Regions from separate parts of the Homo sapiens genome. Here regions 2, 3, 4, 5 and 6 are each linked to region 1. The links are contacts of gene promoters, found by promoter capture Hi-C in human tissues and cell types (Jung and others, 2019). All regions are on one chromosome and are shown on one strand. Each heading gives the region's core, a stretch centred on a gene start or on the middle of the fragment in contact. The rest is flanking DNA. Distances are from core to core; before and after follow the strand shown. Region 1 holds the start of BOP1 (BOP1 ribosomal biogenesis factor). Region 2 holds the start of ZNF251 (zinc finger protein 251). Region 3 overlaps ZNF251 (zinc finger protein 251). Region 4 holds the start of ARHGAP39 (Rho GTPase activating protein 39). Region 5 overlaps ARHGAP39 (Rho GTPase activating protein 39). Region 6 holds the start of RPL8 (ribosomal protein L8).

The links. Contacts are between HindIII fragments. The study calls those that stand out against the background at their distance.
Region 2: the fragment with the promoter of ZNF251 here is called in contact with the fragment with the promoter of BOP1 in region 1 in 5 of the 25 tissues and cell types used here (dorsolateral prefrontal cortex, liver, lymphoblastoid cells and 2 more).
Region 3: a contact is called between a fragment that was not itself captured here and the fragment with the promoter of BOP1 in region 1, in 1 of the 25 tissues and cell types used here (dorsolateral prefrontal cortex).
Region 4: a contact is called between the fragment with the promoter of ARHGAP39 here and the fragment with the promoter of BOP1 in region 1, in 4 of the 25 tissues and cell types used here (dorsolateral prefrontal cortex, heart left ventricle, heart right ventricle and 1 more).
Region 5: a fragment that was not itself captured here is called in contact with the fragment with the promoter of BOP1 in region 1 in 2 of the 25 tissues and cell types used here (dorsolateral prefrontal cortex and heart right ventricle).
Region 6: the fragment with the promoter of RPL8 here is called in contact with the fragment with the promoter of BOP1 in region 1 in 3 of the 25 tissues and cell types used here (lymphoblastoid cells, small bowel and spleen).

Annotation. Positions count from the first base shown.
Region 1 is chr8:144,290,029-144,292,728 of GRCh38, reverse strand. BOP1 (BOP1 ribosomal biogenesis factor) reads left to right here and starts at 1,291. Exons shown (of 16, transcript NM_015201.5): 1 at 1,291-1,457. The coding sequence starts at 1,359. HSF1 (heat shock transcription factor 1) reads right to left here and starts at 1,125. Exons shown (of 13, transcript NM_005526.4): 1 at 855-1,125. The coding sequence starts at 971. RefSeq lists enhancers at 328-387, 1-646 and silencers at 778-937, 1,048-1,547. The HindIII fragment of the contact is 19,250 bases long and covers 1-2,700 here.
Region 2 is chr8:144,754,173-144,756,872 of GRCh38, reverse strand. ZNF251 (zinc finger protein 251) reads left to right here and starts at 1,342. Exons shown (of 5, transcript NM_138367.2): 1 at 1,342-1,468; 2 at 2,070-2,177; 3 at 2,552-2,681. The coding sequence starts at 2,145. All of the region lies in intron 2 of LOC107986986 (a long non-coding RNA gene), which reads right to left. The HindIII fragment of the contact is 22,211 bases long and covers 1-2,700 here.
Region 3 is chr8:144,722,380-144,725,079 of GRCh38, reverse strand. It overlaps ZNF251 (zinc finger protein 251), which reads left to right. Exons shown (of 5, transcript NM_138367.2): 5 at 1,698-2,700. Among named protein-coding and RNA genes, the nearest start is that of ZNF251, 32 kb to the left of the region's middle. The HindIII fragment of the contact is 3,424 bases long and covers 1-2,700 here.
Region 4 is chr8:144,684,461-144,687,160 of GRCh38, reverse strand. ARHGAP39 (Rho GTPase activating protein 39) reads left to right here and starts at 1,315. Exons shown (of 12, transcript NM_025251.3): 1 at 1,315-1,475. RefSeq lists enhancers at 998-1,609, 2,223-2,700. The HindIII fragment of the contact is 13,771 bases long and covers 1-2,700 here.
Region 5 is chr8:144,609,541-144,612,240 of GRCh38, reverse strand. All of the region lies in intron 1 of ARHGAP39 (Rho GTPase activating protein 39), which reads left to right. Among named protein-coding and RNA genes, the nearest start is that of ARHGAP39, 75 kb to the left of the region's middle. The HindIII fragment of the contact is 3,122 bases long and covers 1-2,700 here.
Region 6 is chr8:144,791,042-144,793,741 of GRCh38, reverse strand. RPL8 (ribosomal protein L8) reads left to right here and starts at 1,352. Exons shown (of 5, transcript NM_001317782.2): 1 at 1,352-1,750; 2 at 1,828-1,969; 3 at 2,247-2,465. The coding sequence starts at 1,613. It overlaps MIR6850 (microRNA 6850), which reads left to right and starts at 1,751; the gene lies at 1,751-1,811. RefSeq lists enhancers at 1-260, 2,673-2,700 and a silencer at 1,431-1,650. The HindIII fragment of the contact is 17,129 bases long and covers 1-2,700 here.

The DNA of each region.
Region 1 (2,700 bases), core at 42-2,541:
TCCGCCTCCCAAAGTGCTGGGATTACAAGCAAGAGTCACCCCACTCGGCCAGTGTGGCCCTTCTTCAGGTCATCACTTGCCAGCCGCAGGCGGTGGCTCTGCCCCTCACCGGACACGACGTCACAGCCGGGATGTGAACAGCAGATTCTGATCTCCAACTCCAGACAATCACTGATTTACTTCTGCAAACCGGAGCTGTCCGGTCTTGCAGGGTCGGACCATGTAAACAAGCCTGCTGCCAGGCAACTGAAGACAGAAACACGAATAAAGATGCCCCATAAGGAATGAAAAACAAAACTCCTCTTGGGAAACCCAGATTTGGGATTCGGAAACGGGCTTGAGATCAACCTGAAGCTTCATGACGTCTTACTGTTTCCACTGCCTTTCCTGTTCCACTACAGCAACGCCCTCCACTTCACGTGCCAAGTCCTGACTTTCTCCTAATAGTTGCCGACCCAGCACCCCGTAGGCTGTCCCCTGGGGACGCCGATGTCCTCTGGGGCATAGCGTCCGCTGGCGAAGCCGGGTGCTTGCCCTAAGCGCGGACACTTCCGCAACCGCCCAACAGTTAGCAGAAGCCCAATACAAGAGACGCCCCATTCTCCCCATCCCAGGGAAACTTCGCTGGGGCAGGGGTTGAACCGAGTGTGGGTCTCGTAGCCGCTTTCCCAACTTAAGGCTCTGGGTCTGAGCAGGCTCGGGACCCGCCGCCCTTCTCTGGCGGGGGCAGGGCAGGCTCACCGCGCGTAAGCTGAAGTGCGGCAGGGCCCCTCCCCGCAGCCCTCCCGCGCCGTCCGCCGCGGCCCTGCTCCCTCCCGGTCCCCACGGGCCCCGCGCCCGCGCGCTGCCCTCACCGGGCTCCAGCAGATGAGCGCGTCGGTGTCCGGGTCGCTCACGAGGGTCCACAGCTTGGTCAGGAAGGCCGGGACGTTGCTGGGCCCCGCCGCGCCGGGGCCCACGGGCAGATCCATCTCGAGCAAGGAGGGAATAGGCGGAGGGAGCGGCCGCAAAGAGGGGCCGAGGGCCGGGCTAACGCCGTCGCCGCGCCAGCCTTCCGGGCCGCGCCGCCGCCCGCTGCGCACACACAGCCCCGGGGCCCAGCATGGCCGCCGCCATCTTGCAACGGGCGCGCTCCCGCCGCCGCCGCTGCCGCCCTCCCGCGTCACCCCCGGCGCGAGCACGCAGGCCCCGACCCCGCCCTGGTCCCCGGCCCAGCCGCGCGCCTGCGCGTGTTGGTCCCACCCCCTTCCCTCCACCCGCCAATCGGGGCCGGGCTGGGCGGGGCGCGTCCTCCTGCGCACGCGGCCCGGTCGCTGTCGGAAGCGGCTGTGCGGGTGGCGGCCGGCGCGCGGTGGGGCATGGCGGGTTCGCGGGGTGCGGGGCGCACGGCGGCGCCGAGCGTGCGGCCGGAGAAGCGGCGGTCTGAGCCCGAACTGGAGCCTGAGCCCGAGCCGGAGGTGACTGTGGCGATGCGGGGCGGCGGGGCGCGTCCCTAGAGGGCCCGGCGGGCACGTGGCCGCGCTGGGGCGGGTGGGCCCGGCTTCTGTCACCTGGGCGCCCGCGCCCAGTGAATCGGTCTTGGGCGTGGGTGCAGCTCCTCTATCGGGGGGTCTCAGGCAGAGCGGACTGCGGGGTAAAGGACGGCGTCCGGGAAGCAAAGAAACGGGGGAGCGGGGAGTGGGGACGGGGCGCCCCTTGCAGCAGCCTCTCCAGCCGTTCCATTTGTGCATCCTGCCAATAAAAGGGCTCGGCTTGCGCTCCCAGTAAATGCTTAACCTACGTATACGCTAGTTAATTGCGTTTTTATGCTCATGGGATAGACATGAGAATAAGAAAACCTGAATAGAACCCAGTGTCTGCTGCATTTGCTGTATTAGAACTCACTGTTGCTCTCTGCTAGCTCAGCCCTGTCTTGGTTGTGGGGATCATCAAATTGGGTGGTGGAGGGGATGGACAGCCAGCCCCTCACAGCCCCCTCGGCCGCGGCCGCGCTGGGTTGTTGAAACTGCCCCATTGCTTTGTGAAGCGAATTCAACTCATCCTGGCTCCCATGGGCTGAATGGCCCGCAGGCCACTCTAGGCGCCAGGTTCTGCGACTTCCACCCTTGGACTAAACGGTCCTCAGGAGCCAGTTGTTTGCGCCCAGGCCACGGATGCCATTTCCACTAGTTATTGTGATTGTGTAGCCGACTGAATACCAAGACACATCATGACTCTGTGTGAGAGAGGCATTGTGTGAACACTCGGTATGCAATAGCTAATACATGCAGGTCGTACCTTAAGTGAGACTTGTAAACTATTAGGAAAACAGTAAAATCTAGAATTCTGCATTCAACTGCTTCCTTTTTCTTTTCTTTTCCTTTTCTTTCTTTTTTCTTTTTTTTTTTTTTGAGACAGAGCCTGGCTCTGTTGCCCAGGCTAGAGTGCAGTGGTGCAGTCTTGGCTCACTGCAGCTTCCACCTCCTGGCTAACTCAGCCTCCTGAGTAGCTGGGATTAGAGGTGCCCGCCACCACCAGCTAATTTTTGTATTTTTAGTAGAGATGGTTTCACCATGTTGGCCAGGCTGGTCTTGAACTCCTGACCTCAGGTGATCCACCCGCCTCAGCCTCCCAAAGTGTTGGGATTACAGGAGTGAGCCACTGTGCCTGGCCTTCAACTGCTTCCTAAGAGTCTAAGTTCTTGTTCCACCCTTTAAGGCC
Region 2 (2,700 bases), core at 93-2,592, 460 kb before region 1:
CTATTTTCCAAATTCTCCCCATTATTTAAAAAAAACCACACACACAACAAACTCTGGAATGGGCACCCTTCTCTTTGTCATTTTTGTTATTTCCATAGGATAGATTCCTAGATTAATTGAAGTGTTTAAGGCTCTTTATGTACAGCTTAATTCATTTTCAACATTGTACTAAACACGCTTCCTCAAGCATAGCAGTGCGTAATTCTCCACAATCTCCCCAGCACTGATATTAATAATGTAAGGCATCTTCTTAATCATGTGTGACTTTGCATGGTGCTTTAGACTTCTAGACATTCTCCATCCTCGTTGATCGTCTCAAGTTCAGATATAAAATTTCTGCCTTGATTCTAACACAGTGTACAGGGCCTACACTATATTCTGGGTGACAAGATGGCTTGGCTTTCCTTTCCTTCTCCCCCTGCTCCTAAGCTGGTCTCCTCACCTTTATCAAGTGCTATTTTTTCAACCATGCTTTATTGTGTAGGGGCCAAAGGGAAAGTTCCTCTTTGCCCTCTGAAGGTTCACTGAAAGCCAACTCATAAAAGGCAGATTTTTGGAGAAAAGGCAAATAAATGGATTATTTATTTATTTATTATTTATTTTTGAGATGGAGTCTCGCTCTGTCACCCAGGCTGGAGTGCAGTGGCGCGATCTCGGCTCACTGCAACCTCCGCCTCCCGGGTTCAAGCGATTCTCCCGCCTCAGCCTCCGGAGTAGCTGGGACTACAGACGCCCGCCACCACGCCCGGCCTTTACCGCCAGTTTTCACACAGAAAAGCGGGGGGAACATCAGAGTCGTGTTTTTAGGTTTTGTGGCTGGCTTTGGGGGTCTGGCCTCTGGGACTCGCCTTGGGTAAAAGGGATTCACTCTGTGAGGAGCCTCGCGGGAGAAAAGAACTGAGACTGGAGGCCTGGGAAGGTCAGAGGGAAACTGCCTCCCAGGCCTTCATTTTGGGGCGTTGTGTTCTGAGCCCCGATAATTGTAACATCTTCATAAGCGACTTTCTGGTGGTTATGGTGAATCGGGACACACGATGTATGGTGACCGACGGGGGAGCCGGGAGCCCAGCGGGGTTAGGGTTCAGGTGAGGGTTTAGGGTCGGGGCGAGCGCGGCGCGGCCCGGATGCGCAGCGTCACCGCGCCAGACCCTCCGCTCAGCTGCCGTGGGCTCTCCCCCTCCCCGACCATAGACGGCGCAGGCCTCCAGTCATCCCAGAGCGGCCCCGGAAGAATCCGGGCGGAACCGCGGCTGGCTTCCGGTTCCCGGCGTTCTCGGAGGCGTACTGAGGCCCCGCAGGGGGCGGGGAAGCCTGCGTGTGCGCAGCTCGGCCCGGCCCGCCCTCTTCATCCTAGCCCGCCCCCTCCCCGGCTCTGGACCCGGTTCTGTGGGAGGGTCCGTTCCGGGCTCGGTGCGACTGCGCAGCTCCTCGGCGCTTCCTCGGTGGCTTCCCCGGGTCGAGCAAACAGGTGGGGCAGTGTCGGACCAGGAAGGAGCGCCAAGCGGGCAGGCAGGCGGGGAGGGCGCGGGGAGGGCGCGGGGAGGCGGCGGCCAGTCCAGGAGGAGCCTGTTCTGGGTGCCGCGGGAGCCACCGACGGGCTGCAGAGGCCGGGAGGAGGCGACCGCGGCGCGGCCCTAGAAGGCTGGACTGAGGACCACAGCTGGCTTCCGGCCTCTCCCCGGAGCCTGGGGCCTTCGGCAGCATCCCCGCGGCCTCCTTCTCACGTCCTCAGCCTTGGTGAGGCTGCACCCTCACGTGGCTCTTTGCCCCAGGTTGGCCAGGCAGGTAGAACGGCCCTGCACCCCATTTCCAGGGCCTTCAGCAGGTCTGGACCACGGGAACTGCCAGCTTTCACCCCTTAGCCGGGCGTCCCTGGATCCCCCCGGGCTCTGGCTCTGGCCGTTCTGGGATTTCAGGAGTCACTGAGCAGTAGGGCACGTCGGCCCGTGCTGCATAGTGACCTGCCTCCCGCGACCCAGGAGGCCACAGCAGCAATCAGCTTCTGCCTCCTGGCCATCCTTCCACACCCCTGGTTGAATGGGGCTGAGCCTGAGTTCTCCCCACTGAAGGTAAGTTCGGGGAGACTTCAGGCCAGGGCAGTCTCCTGTCTTCTCTTGGAAACCACAGCAGCCCATGCACACAGAATGGCAGCCACATTCCAGCTTCCAGGGCACCAGGTGAGTTAACCCTCCTTCCTGCCCACCTCTTCATCTTCATCCCCATCCCAGTCAGAAGCTACTCTCCTCTGGAGCCGTGAGCCCGGCAACTGGTAAGGCCAGCCAGGGGCTCATAGCAACCGTGAGGAAAGGGTTCTGAGAGGTAGACTCGCCCTCCTGCAGGGAGAGGGGCTCTGAGCTCAGCTGGGTCCCCGTGTAGCTGAAGTTGGCTGGTCCTCAGCGCTCTCAGCTGCCCCATCAGGGACCTGCTGATACACAGTTCATACTGACCACAGCAGGGCCCTGGGTAGTGGGGCCCCACCAGGTCAGGGCCCTTTTAGTGCAGGCTGCTGCCCCGTGGGCATGGCCTGGGCAGCGGCGATGTTTTGTTGCAGGAGATGCCGCTGACCTTCCAGGATGTGGCCGTGTACTTCTCTCAGGCGGAGGGGCGGCAGCTGGGCCCCCAGCAGCGGGCGCTCTACCGGGATGTGATGCTGGAGAACTATGGGAACGTGGCCTCTCTGGGTGAGGCTCTCTGCACTTG
Region 3 (2,700 bases), core at 22-2,521, 430 kb before region 1:
ATCGTGCCATTGCACTCCAGTCTGGGCAACAAGAGTGAAACTCTGTCTCAAAGAAAAAAAAAACAAGAAAGAAAGAAAAAAGGTGGTGGTGGATACATAATTGTTTGAGTGCTAAATAAATTGACTCATAATTTAAAACCCTTCCTCAGAAAAAATGCCAAGCCCAGATGGCTTCACCGACTTGTACTAAACAGTTAAGGAAGAAATAGCAACTATCTTACATATATATCTATGTTCAATAAAAGTTGGTTTATGCTGTGCATATAATTTTAGAACCTGATTCTTCTCTTTGTAATATGAGCTTTTCATTTAATTATATATCTTTCTATTATAATAATGGTAGAATTGTATTCCATTATGTGAATAGTTTTTACTGGGTTTAAACAGCCCCGTTTTTGGACATTTGGGTTCTTCCTTGTTTCCCCCCAATTACAAAATGCAGCGAGCATCATTGTAGTCATTTCAACGTACATATGGCAGTCCACTTAGGATGGATCCTAGGGGAGTAGTTTGGGGGACAAAGGGTGTGTGAGATATCAATTTTTTGGCTACATATTGTCAGCTTTTTAAAAAAGTTATATTTTGGCTAGGCACAGTGGCCTGCACCTGTAGTCCCAGCTACTTGGGAGGCTGAGGCAGGAAGATTGCTTGAGCCTGAGAGGTCAAGGCTGCTGTGAACTGTGGTTGCACCGTGGCACTCCAGCCTGGGAAACAGAGCAAGACACTATCTCAAAAAAAGGTCATTTATTTACAGTCCCACCAACAGTACACGGCATGATTGTTGCTTTAATTCTTTTTTTTTTTTTTTTTTTTTTTTTGAGACGGAGTCTTGCTCTGTTGCCCGGGCTGGAGTGCAGTGGCGCGATCTCAGCTCACTGCAAGCTCTGCCTCCCGGGTTCGCTCCGCCTCCTGGGTTCACGCCATTCTCCTGCCTCAGCCTCCTGAGTAGCTGGGACTACGGGCGCCTGCCACCTCGACTGGCTAATTTTTTTGTATTTTTAGTAGAGACGGGGTTTCACCGTGTTACCCAGGATGGTCTCGATCTCCTGACCTCGTGATCCGCCCACCTCGGCCTCCCAAAGTGCTGGGATTACGGGCGTGAGCCACCGCGCCTGGCCCTGGCCCAGATTCTTTACATCAGGAACTCGGTGGATATTTTTGTGCATCACAGCCAGGCCCAGGCCTTCCTGTCTGTCACTGCTAACTTACTTCTTTTGTCAGGTTTCAGCTTGAATCTCACTCCTGGCATTTTCTCTGACCATGTAGACTAGGTTGGGGCCAATAACACATTTACACAGTTTCTGTCACATGGTGTATCATTATTTTTAAGAACTTACTTGCTATCTAATTGAGTAGAACATAAGCTTCATGAGATCAGAGACTATATTTACCTTCCTGTATATTCCTTACCTAGAACACGCCTGGCCTTCTAAATATTTGTTGAATAATTTGCCAATTTGATAGGTGAAAAATCGTAATTTGTTTTGATTTGACTACTTTGATAACTAATGAACTTGAATATTTTTATCCTGTTGATTGGCCATCCCATCTTTACTTCTGAATTCTGCCTTTCACATCTTTTCCTATTGGAGCATCTGCCTTCTGCATGATGGTTTATAGGAGCTTCTACCACATTATGGACATTATGCCTGATGGAAGGTTTTCTCTAGTAACTCATTTATATTTTTCTTTAACAGATTCTGAGGTTGGGACCAAGAAGGAACTATCTATTTTAAACCAAAAATTTTCCGAAGAAGTAAAAACCCCAGAATTTGTATCAAGAAGACTCTTAAGGGATAATGCACAGGCCGCTGAGTTTCGGGAAGCATGGGGCCGTGAGGGCAAACTCAAAGAGCGCGTGGGAAATTCTGCCGGGCAGAGTTTGAACAAACCCAATATTCACAAGAGAGTTTTAACAGAAGCTACCGTGGGCAGGGAAAGATCTTTGGGAGAAAGAACCCAAGAGTGTAGTGCATTTGATAGAAACTTGAATCTGGACCAAAATGTTGTTAGACTTCAAAGAAATAAAACAGGAGAGAGGGTCTTTAAATGTGATATATGCAGCAAAACCTTCAAATATAATTCAGACCTAAGTAGACACCAGAGAAGTCACACTGGGGAGAAGCCGTACGAATGTGGCCGGTGTGGGCGAGCCTTTACTCACAGCTCAAATCTTGTTCTGCACCATCACATTCACACTGGAAATAAACCATTTAAATGTGATGAATGTGGGAAAACTTTTGGACTCAATTCTCACCTCCGTCTTCATCGGAGAATTCACACTGGAGAAAAACCCTTTGGCTGTGGTGAGTGTGGGAAGGCTTTCAGTCGAAGCTCAACTCTTATTCAACATCGGATCATTCACACAGGAGAGAAACCCTACAAGTGTAATGAATGTGGAAGAGGCTTTAGCCAGAGCCCCCAGTTAACTCAGCATCAGAGAATTCACACTGGAGAGAAGCCGCATGAATGCAGTCACTGTGGGAAGGCCTTCAGTCGAAGCTCCAGCCTTATTCAGCATGAGAGAATTCACACTGGAGAGAAGCCCCATAAATGCAATCAGTGTGGGAAGGCCTTCAGTCAGAGCTCAAGCCTTTTCCTCCATCATCGGGTTCATACTGGAGAGAAACCCTATGTATGTAATGAATGCGGCAGAGCCTTTGGTTTTAACTCTCATCTTACTGAACACGTAAGGATTCA
Region 4 (2,700 bases), core at 66-2,565, 390 kb before region 1:
GGGGGTGGGAAATGCTCGCCGCCAGTGCGTGGTCACGGGGGTGGGAAATGGTCGCCGCCAGTGTGTGGTCACGGGGTGGGAAGTGCTCGCCGCCAGTGCGTGGTCACGGGGGTGGGAAGTGCTCGCCGCCAGTGCGTGGTCACGGGGGTGGGAAATGGTCGCCGCCAGTGTGTGGTCACGGGGGTGGGAAGTGCTCGCCGCCAGTGCGTGGTCACAGGGGTGGGAAATGGTCGCCGCCAGTGTGTGGTCACGGGGGTGGGAAGTGCTCGCCGCCAGTGTGTTGTCACAAGTTTAAGGTGAAGGCAGTCAGCCTGGATGTGTGATTTTCTTCAGCAGTCATGGAGGAGAAGGGTTGGGCTCGCCCAGTTGGGTTTTCTAAGTGAATACAGTGGAGAGGGAGCGGGAGGCGAAAAAGCAGAGCCCTGTGTATAAGAGTGAAGAGTGAAGTGTGACGACGGCCCAACAGGGAAGCGCGGGCGGCGAGACAGCCCGACGGGAGATCTCCTGAGGCGGGAGAGTCCCTGCAAGGCGACTGAGCTGCAGGGCAGGAGGTGGAGCTCCACGGATGACTTTTGACGGGGGCCTTTCAGCCCTTTGCGGCTTCTCACAGTTGAGGACCCAGGGAATGTCCAGGACTGAAGGGTGTGCGCCCCTGTCTTCTACTATCGAAGCTTCAGGCTGTTTAGCCTCCGTTTCTCCAGAAATGCCAGTCAGATTCAATTTCCAGAAACGCACCTGGCACTAAGAGAATCTAGAAAACCAGGCTGAACGCAGATTAGAAAACGCCGAATAGAGCACTAGTCGAGCTGCAGCTGAGTGAATTACCGAGTAAAAGTGACAGGACTAAAAAGGTGAGAATAACAGGAGGTGAAGAGACACGAGCCCGCCACAAGAAGGACTGAGGAACAGGGCAGCCCACGTTTTGAGAAGAATGGCTGTATTTCTAGAGTCGAAGAAAAGTGAAATCTCAGACTCGGGAAGCCCAACGTGGTTTGAGAGGGCAAAATTACACCAAACCACACCGAGACGTGTCAGATGGTAACTGCTCTGCACCGAAAGAGACGGGAAGACACCGCTAACTCACAGGGTAGGTCCGCGCGGGAGGCCTCTGGCGCGGCGACGGGGCGGGGCCAGGCGGCTCCCAGCATGCCGCGCGCGCCCTCCGCGGGACTCCGGCTCCCGGCATGCCGCGCGCCAGCGCATGCGTGATGCGGCCTCGCGAGGCAGTGCCCCCTGGCGGCGGGTAGTGACCGCCGCGGGGGCGGAGCCGGAGGCGGGGGGTTGCGCTTGGTGACGGGAGGACGCGCGGCCGCCGCGCACTGGGCCGGCGGCGGCGGCGGAGGACGCCGACAGCACGGGCTGCCGCGGCAGCAGCGGCGGAGCAGCAGAGAGGCCGGGGAGCGGCGGCTGGCTCACGCGCGTCGCGCGGGCCGGGATGAGGGACTGTGGCGGCGCGGCCCGCGCGCAGCCGGCCGGTGAGAGCGCGGGCAACGGGCGGTGGGCGGCGCGGGCCAAGAAGATGGCGGAGGGGCCGGCGCTGCGGTCCCCGTGGTCCTGGCCCAGCCTCGGCGGAGGCTCCAGGCCCGGCAGCGCAAGGAATCCAGGCCCGCGGCGACTGCAGCGGCGGGAGGGGCTGTGACTGGGCCGTGGAGGGAGGGGGCGTGGGTGTGCGGGGCCCGGCCGGGCGGGGGGCGCGGAGGCTCGAGGGGCCGAGGCCGCGCGGGGCCCGGGTGCGCGCCGACGGGCCGGGCTGGGAGTGTGAGGGTGGGTGAGTTCGCGTGTGCCCGGCCCGAAGTGGGTGTGACTGTACCCTGTCCAGAGTGAGTTGTGTCCCTGCCCTAGGTGGGTGTGAGTGTGCCCGGCCCCAATGTGGGTGTGGGTGTGCCCCTGTCCAGAGTGAGTGTGAGTGTGCCCCTGTCCACGGTGGGTATGAGTGTGCCCGGCCCGAGGGGAGTGTGGGTGTGTCCGGCCCCAGGGGGGTGTGAGTGTGCTCCTGCCCGAGGGAGGTGTGAGTGTGCCCGGCCCTAGATGGGTGTGAGTGTGCCCCTGCCCGAGGGGGGTGTGAGGGGACCCCGCCCGTGGTGGGTGTGGGTGCACGTGTGCCCAGCCTGAGCTCGGGGCACCGGCCGCATTCCCGGGCGCCGTCGGAGTGGGGACAAGGTGGATGCCCGCCGGTCGGGTCTGGTGCCCGCGTCCTGAAGGGCGGCCCGGGTGCAGGGCTGCGGTGCGCTGCGGTGCAGCCTCGGGCTTTGTCCCCGGGGCGCAGGGAGCGGACATGGGCGTCTCCAGGTGGGGTCATGGCCGCCTGCGGGTGGGCTCTGCGGCCTCGCCTCTGCGGCAGGCGCGGGCTGGGGCTCCGGCGCTCGGAGCCTTCCCCTCCCGGTTGCCCCCCGAGCTGGAATTCCCTCGGTTGCTTCCCGGTTGCTTCCCAGTTGCTGGAGTGCTGTGGGTGGAGGCGGCGTTCCGTGCCCAGGGCGGCGAGAGAGGCGGGCTGTGCATTTTGGGGCCCAGGACGTTTTTTATTTTAAAACGTGCAGCCGGCTCCTTGGCAGCTGTGGGTGTGTTCCGAGCCGCTTCCCACCAGCAGCTGCTGTGGGCGCTGCGCAGCTTCGGAAACGCAGCCGGGCCCCCTCCCCCTCAGTGCTGTACGGGTTTAACCAGACCTCCAGTGACCTCTGCTGAAAAACCTACAGTGGTGAG
Region 5 (2,700 bases), core at 79-2,578, 320 kb before region 1:
CAGCGGCGCAGCCGTGGCTCACCTCACTCTGTCGCCCTGGCTGGAGTGCAGCGGCGCAGCCGTGGCTCACCTCACTCTGTCGCCCTGGCTGGAGTGCAGCGGCGCAGCCGTGGCTCACTTCACTCTGTTGCCCTGTCTGGAGTGCAGTGGTGCAGCCGTGGCTCACTGCAACTTTGACCTCTTGGGTTCAAGGAATCCTCTGGCCTCATCCTCCTTTTTTTTTTTTTTTTTTACATGGAGTTTTGCTCTTGTCACCCAGGTTGGAGTACAATGGTGCAATCTCGGCCCACTGCAACCTCCACCTCCCAGATTCAGGCGATTCTCCTGCCTCGTCTTCCCGAGTAGCTGGGAATACAAGTGCACCCCACCATGTCTGGCTAATTTTTTTATAGAGACAGGGTCTCGCTATGTTGCCCAGGCTGGTCTTGAACTCCTGGCCTCAAGGGATCCTCCTGCTTCAGCCTCCCAAAGTGCTGGGATTGTAGACATGAGCTACTGTGCCTTGCCACCCTCTTTAAATTTAAATAAATAAATAGGTTATAAGTAAAAGAAGGATAAATGTTACACAATTCTAACTCTGATGTAAAGCAATCCGGAGTTACTGTAATATCAAATGTACTGATTTCAGAGCAAAGGAAACAACCAGGATAAAGATACTTCATGATAAAAGAGTTCATTCATCAAGAAGACACTGTAAATGTGTATGCACCTAATAACAGAGCTATAAAATACATGAAGCAAAAACTGATAGTGCAAAGAGAAGTAGACAAATCCACAGTTGTAGTTGGGACTCTCCTGACCTGTTTCTCAGTGATGGATAGAACAAGTAGAACAGAAATTAGTATCAGCACCATCAACCAGCCTGATCCGATTGGCTTTATACGCACTTCACCCGGCAGCACGTTCTTTTCCAGTGCACACGGGACATTTACCAGGATAGACCATTTTAGGGGACCATAAAAAGCATCAATAAACTTGAACAAATTCAAATCATATAAATTATGTTCTCTGAGAAAAACATAATTAGAAACCAATAAAAAATATCTGGAAGATGATTAGTTACTGAGTATATGTTCCATTAGTCAAAGAAGAAATCAAAAGAAAGGTTAGAAAGCTTTCTGAGGCTGGGCGTGATGGCTCACGCCTGTAATCCCAGCACTTTGGGAGGCAAAGGTGGGAGGATCCCTTGATCTCAGGAGTTTGAGACCAGCCTGGCTAACATGGTGAAACCCCATCTCTACTAAAAATACAAAAAAATTAGCCAGGTGTGGTGGCATATGCCTGTAATCCCAGCTACTGGGGAGGTTGAGGCAGGAGAATCGCTTGAACCTGGGAGGTGGAGGTTGCAGCAAGCCAAGATCCCACCACTGCACTCCAGCCTGGGTGACAGAGTGAGACTCCATCTCAAAACTCTTTGAACGGGATGAAAATGAAAATACAGCATATCAAAACTTGTCGGATATCATGAAAGCTGTACTCAGAGGGGTATTTTATAATACTAAATACCTAAAAAAAAATTTTTTTTTTTTGAGACGGAGTCTCTCACTGTCGCCCAGGCTGGAGTGCAGTGGCACGATCTCAGCTCACTGCAAGCTCTGCCTCCCAGGTTCACGCCATTCCCCTGCCTCAGCCTTTCGAGTTGCTGGGACTACAGGCGCCCGCCACCACGCCTGGCTAACTTTTTTGTATTTTTAGTAGAGATGGGGTTTCACAGTATTGGCCAGGATGGTCTCAATTTCCTGATCTCGTGATCCACCCACCTCGGCCTCCCAAAGTGCTGGGATTACAGGCGTGGGCCACCACGCCCGGCCCTAAATTTTTTTTTTAAATGTACAAATCACTGAACTCTGCTTCTAGCTTAGGAAATTAGAAAAAGGAAAGCAAATTAAGTCTAAAGGATGCAAAAGAAAGGAAACAAACATCAAAGTGGAAATTAATGAAAACAGAAAAATAGAAAAAAAACGATTAAGCTGTCTTTTTGAGGCAGTCAGTAAAATCGATAAGCTTCTAGCCAGAAAAGTGAAAAAAGCAAGACATTTTTATATCAATGTCAAAAATGAAAGATGTGGCATAGCTACAGAGTCTGTTGCTCTTAAGAAGATATAAAGGAATAGTATGGTATAATAACTTATGCCAACAAATGTGATTAATTTTATATGAAATGGGCAAGTTCCTTGAAAGACAAACCATTCATACTCACGTAAGAAGAAATTTTTAGAGCCTGCTCAGCTCTGTATCTATTAAATAGATTCAATGTGTAATTGAAAACCTTCCCACAAAGAAACTACATGCCCATCTGGCTTCACTGGAATCTCTGCCACACATTTAAGGAAGAAATAATAGCAATTCTATATAAACTCGCCCAGGAATTTGAGAGGAGGGAATACTTCTCATTTTGTTATGCTGGTATTACTCTGATAGCAAAACCAAAGATGTTACAAGAAGAAAATAGATGCAAAAATGAATATGAATATGGATGTAAAAATTCTTAACAAAATTTTAGCCAATCCCATTTGAGAATATATAAAAAGGACAATATGGCCAGGCGCGGTGGCTCACGCCTGTAATCCCAACAACTTTGGGAGGCTGAGGCGGTGGATCATGAGGCCAGGAATTCAAGACCAGCCTGGCCAACATAATGAAACCCCGTCTCTACCAAATATACAAAAAAATTAGCTGGGCATAGTGGTGGGTGCCTAT
Region 6 (2,700 bases), core at 103-2,602, 500 kb before region 1:
TTCAGGAGTGACGGACAGGCTGGGCCTGTGGGCCAATTTTGGGCTGACCCCAGAACCCCTCACCCTGCCCCCAGGGTCCAGTCCTGCCCCTCAGCCCCTGGCCCTAGCTGTGGGCTGTGCTGCTTCCTGAGTCCCCACCGGGCAGCTCCTCCTCCATCCCCCTGCCGACCCTAGGGGAGGGCCTCCTGCAGCAGCCCCTCCTCTCCCCTGTGAGCAACAGCGGGCACAGGACACCCTTCCACCCTCTCCTGTCTCCTTCTCACGATGTCAACCCTGCCTCAGCCCCTGCAGGGTCTAGGAAACACCCCACCTCCCAGTACCGACAGCAAGCCTCTCCCGCCCACTGGGACCCCCGCCTTCACCTCCTTGCTGCCTCCCCACCCACGGCCTCGCGTGTGCTCGACAGTGCTCACTCAGCCAGGGACTCTCTCCTGGAAAACCTCTTCCCCACCATCCCCCACCCGCGGCCTCGGGGTCCCACCCGTTAGGGGCCCGATTCCGCGAAGCCCCTCTCCACAGCACGTACCGCAGGACACCCCCAGTCGGGCTGACTCTTTCCAGCTCAGGCCCCCACAGCCCCTCCCAGCCTCCATTTCTTGCTCCTTCCCCACCTCTCCCGCACAGGGTTCTGGTCAGGGTACGGTCCAGTCTCCCATTATTCGTCCACTCCGCAGCATGTGACCCAGCCCATCCCCGCTCCTTCTTCCTCGACCCGGGACCCTCCAGCTTGGCCCTCCCCACTTCCTGGGCCGGCCGGCCCTCACCCTCGGCAAGGATCCCGGGGCTCCTCTCCTCGACGCCCGACCTCTCCAAGGGCCTACAGTGGATAAGGTCCCCGCGTCCAGAAGCGCCCGTTCATCAGGGAGACGGACATTTGCCACCTGCAAACCATGACGTTCCACGAGTGGGTCCACGCGTCTCCCCTGCCCATCTCCTGCTCTGCACCAGCGAGAACCCCCTCGGCCTACACGGAAGCCCCTCACCAGGCAAGCCGGGAGCCCCAGACCCCGTGGCCCGGAGTGGGTCGCTCTGTGACACCCTGGACAGGTCACTCAACCACTTGGCGCCTCCTCGGCCACTCAGAAAACACCTGCCCTCCCGGAGACCCCGGTGAAAGCCGAGCACTCCTGCACCCTCCTTCCGAGCCCACGCACACCAGGACACCTTCAGCCGCGTCTCCTGGTGCGCCTGCGCGGGGGCCCTGGAGGAGGAGAAGTAGGCGGGGCCGGCGGCCGCTGGTGACTACAAGCCCCGGCGTGCACCGCGCTAGGCTGGCCGTGGCGCGCCCGGAAGGTGTCGCGGCCCTGGGCCCCGCCCCGGAAGATAAGGCCGCTCGCTGACGCCGTGTTTCCTCTTTCGGCCGCGCTGGTGAACAGGTAGGTCATCCTTGCGGCCTTGCGGCATGGGCAGTATCCGCCGCCATCCTCTTCCGTGAGGCGCGCTGAGACCCGGACCGGCCCTCCTGAGAGGATGCCGGTGCGGGCGCCCGCGGAGAGGGTAGGGAGTGGTGGGCGCGGCGGCCTCGGGGGCGGGGTCCCGGAAAGCCGGGCTGGCGGGGGTACCCGGGCCGCCCGGCCGCGCTAATCGTGAGTCGCCCCCAGGACCCGTCGCCATGGGCCGTGTGATCCGTGGACAGAGGAAGGGCGCCGGGTCTGTGTTCCGCGCGCACGTGAAGCACCGTAAAGGCGCTGCGCGCCTGCGCGCCGTGGATTTCGCTGAGCGGCACGGCTACATCAAGGGCATCGTCAAGGTGCGGAACGCTGGCCGGGGCGGGAGGGGAAGGGACGCCCGGCCGGAACGCCGCACTCACGCCGCCTCTGCCCACAGGACATCATCCACGACCCGGGCCGCGGCGCGCCCCTCGCCAAGGTGGTCTTCCGGGATCCGTATCGGTTTAAGAAGCGGACGGAGCTGTTCATTGCCGCCGAGGGCATTCACACGGGCCAGTTTGTGTATTGCGGCAAGAAGGGTTAGCATCGCGGCGGGGAAGGAAGGTCGGGGTGGGGAGGGGTCTGGGTGTTGCCTGAGGAGTTAACGTCCTAAGCCGATATGGGAACCTCGCAGGCAGAAGCTTCAGGTGGGGACATCCGCGTGGCCAGACCAGTGGCCACCGGTGGGTGCCGAGAGAGTTGTACCGGGAGGCTGGATGTTGAATGCTGTGCTCGCAACTTCGCGGGTTGCCTAGAGCGAGGGGGTTCGCATTGTTTCTTACTGTGCTGACGGCCTGATGCTGCTTCCCCTTGCAGCCCAGCTCAACATTGGCAATGTGCTCCCTGTGGGCACCATGCCTGAGGGTACAATCGTGTGCTGCCTGGAGGAGAAGCCTGGAGACCGTGGCAAGCTGGCCCGGGCATCAGGGAACTATGCCACCGTTATCTCCCACAACCCTGAGACCAAGAAGACCCGTGTGAAGCTGCCCTCCGGCTCCAAGAAGGTTATCTCCTCAGCCAACAGAGCTGTGGTTGGTGAGTATCAGGCAGCAGTTGAATGCTGAGGGCTGTGGGTGAACATGCTGTGAGTGCCGGTGGACAGCCAGTGGCTAGACTTGGTCCCTGGAATTCGATTACCTGTTGTTCTAAAACTTGGGTTCTGTAAGTTTGAGCTCATCCTGTAGTCTCAGTTGTCATCACTGTACAACAGGCACAACAGTACCTGCTTTACTGCTGTTGAGGCGTTAAATGAGATTGGGACGAAGTCACC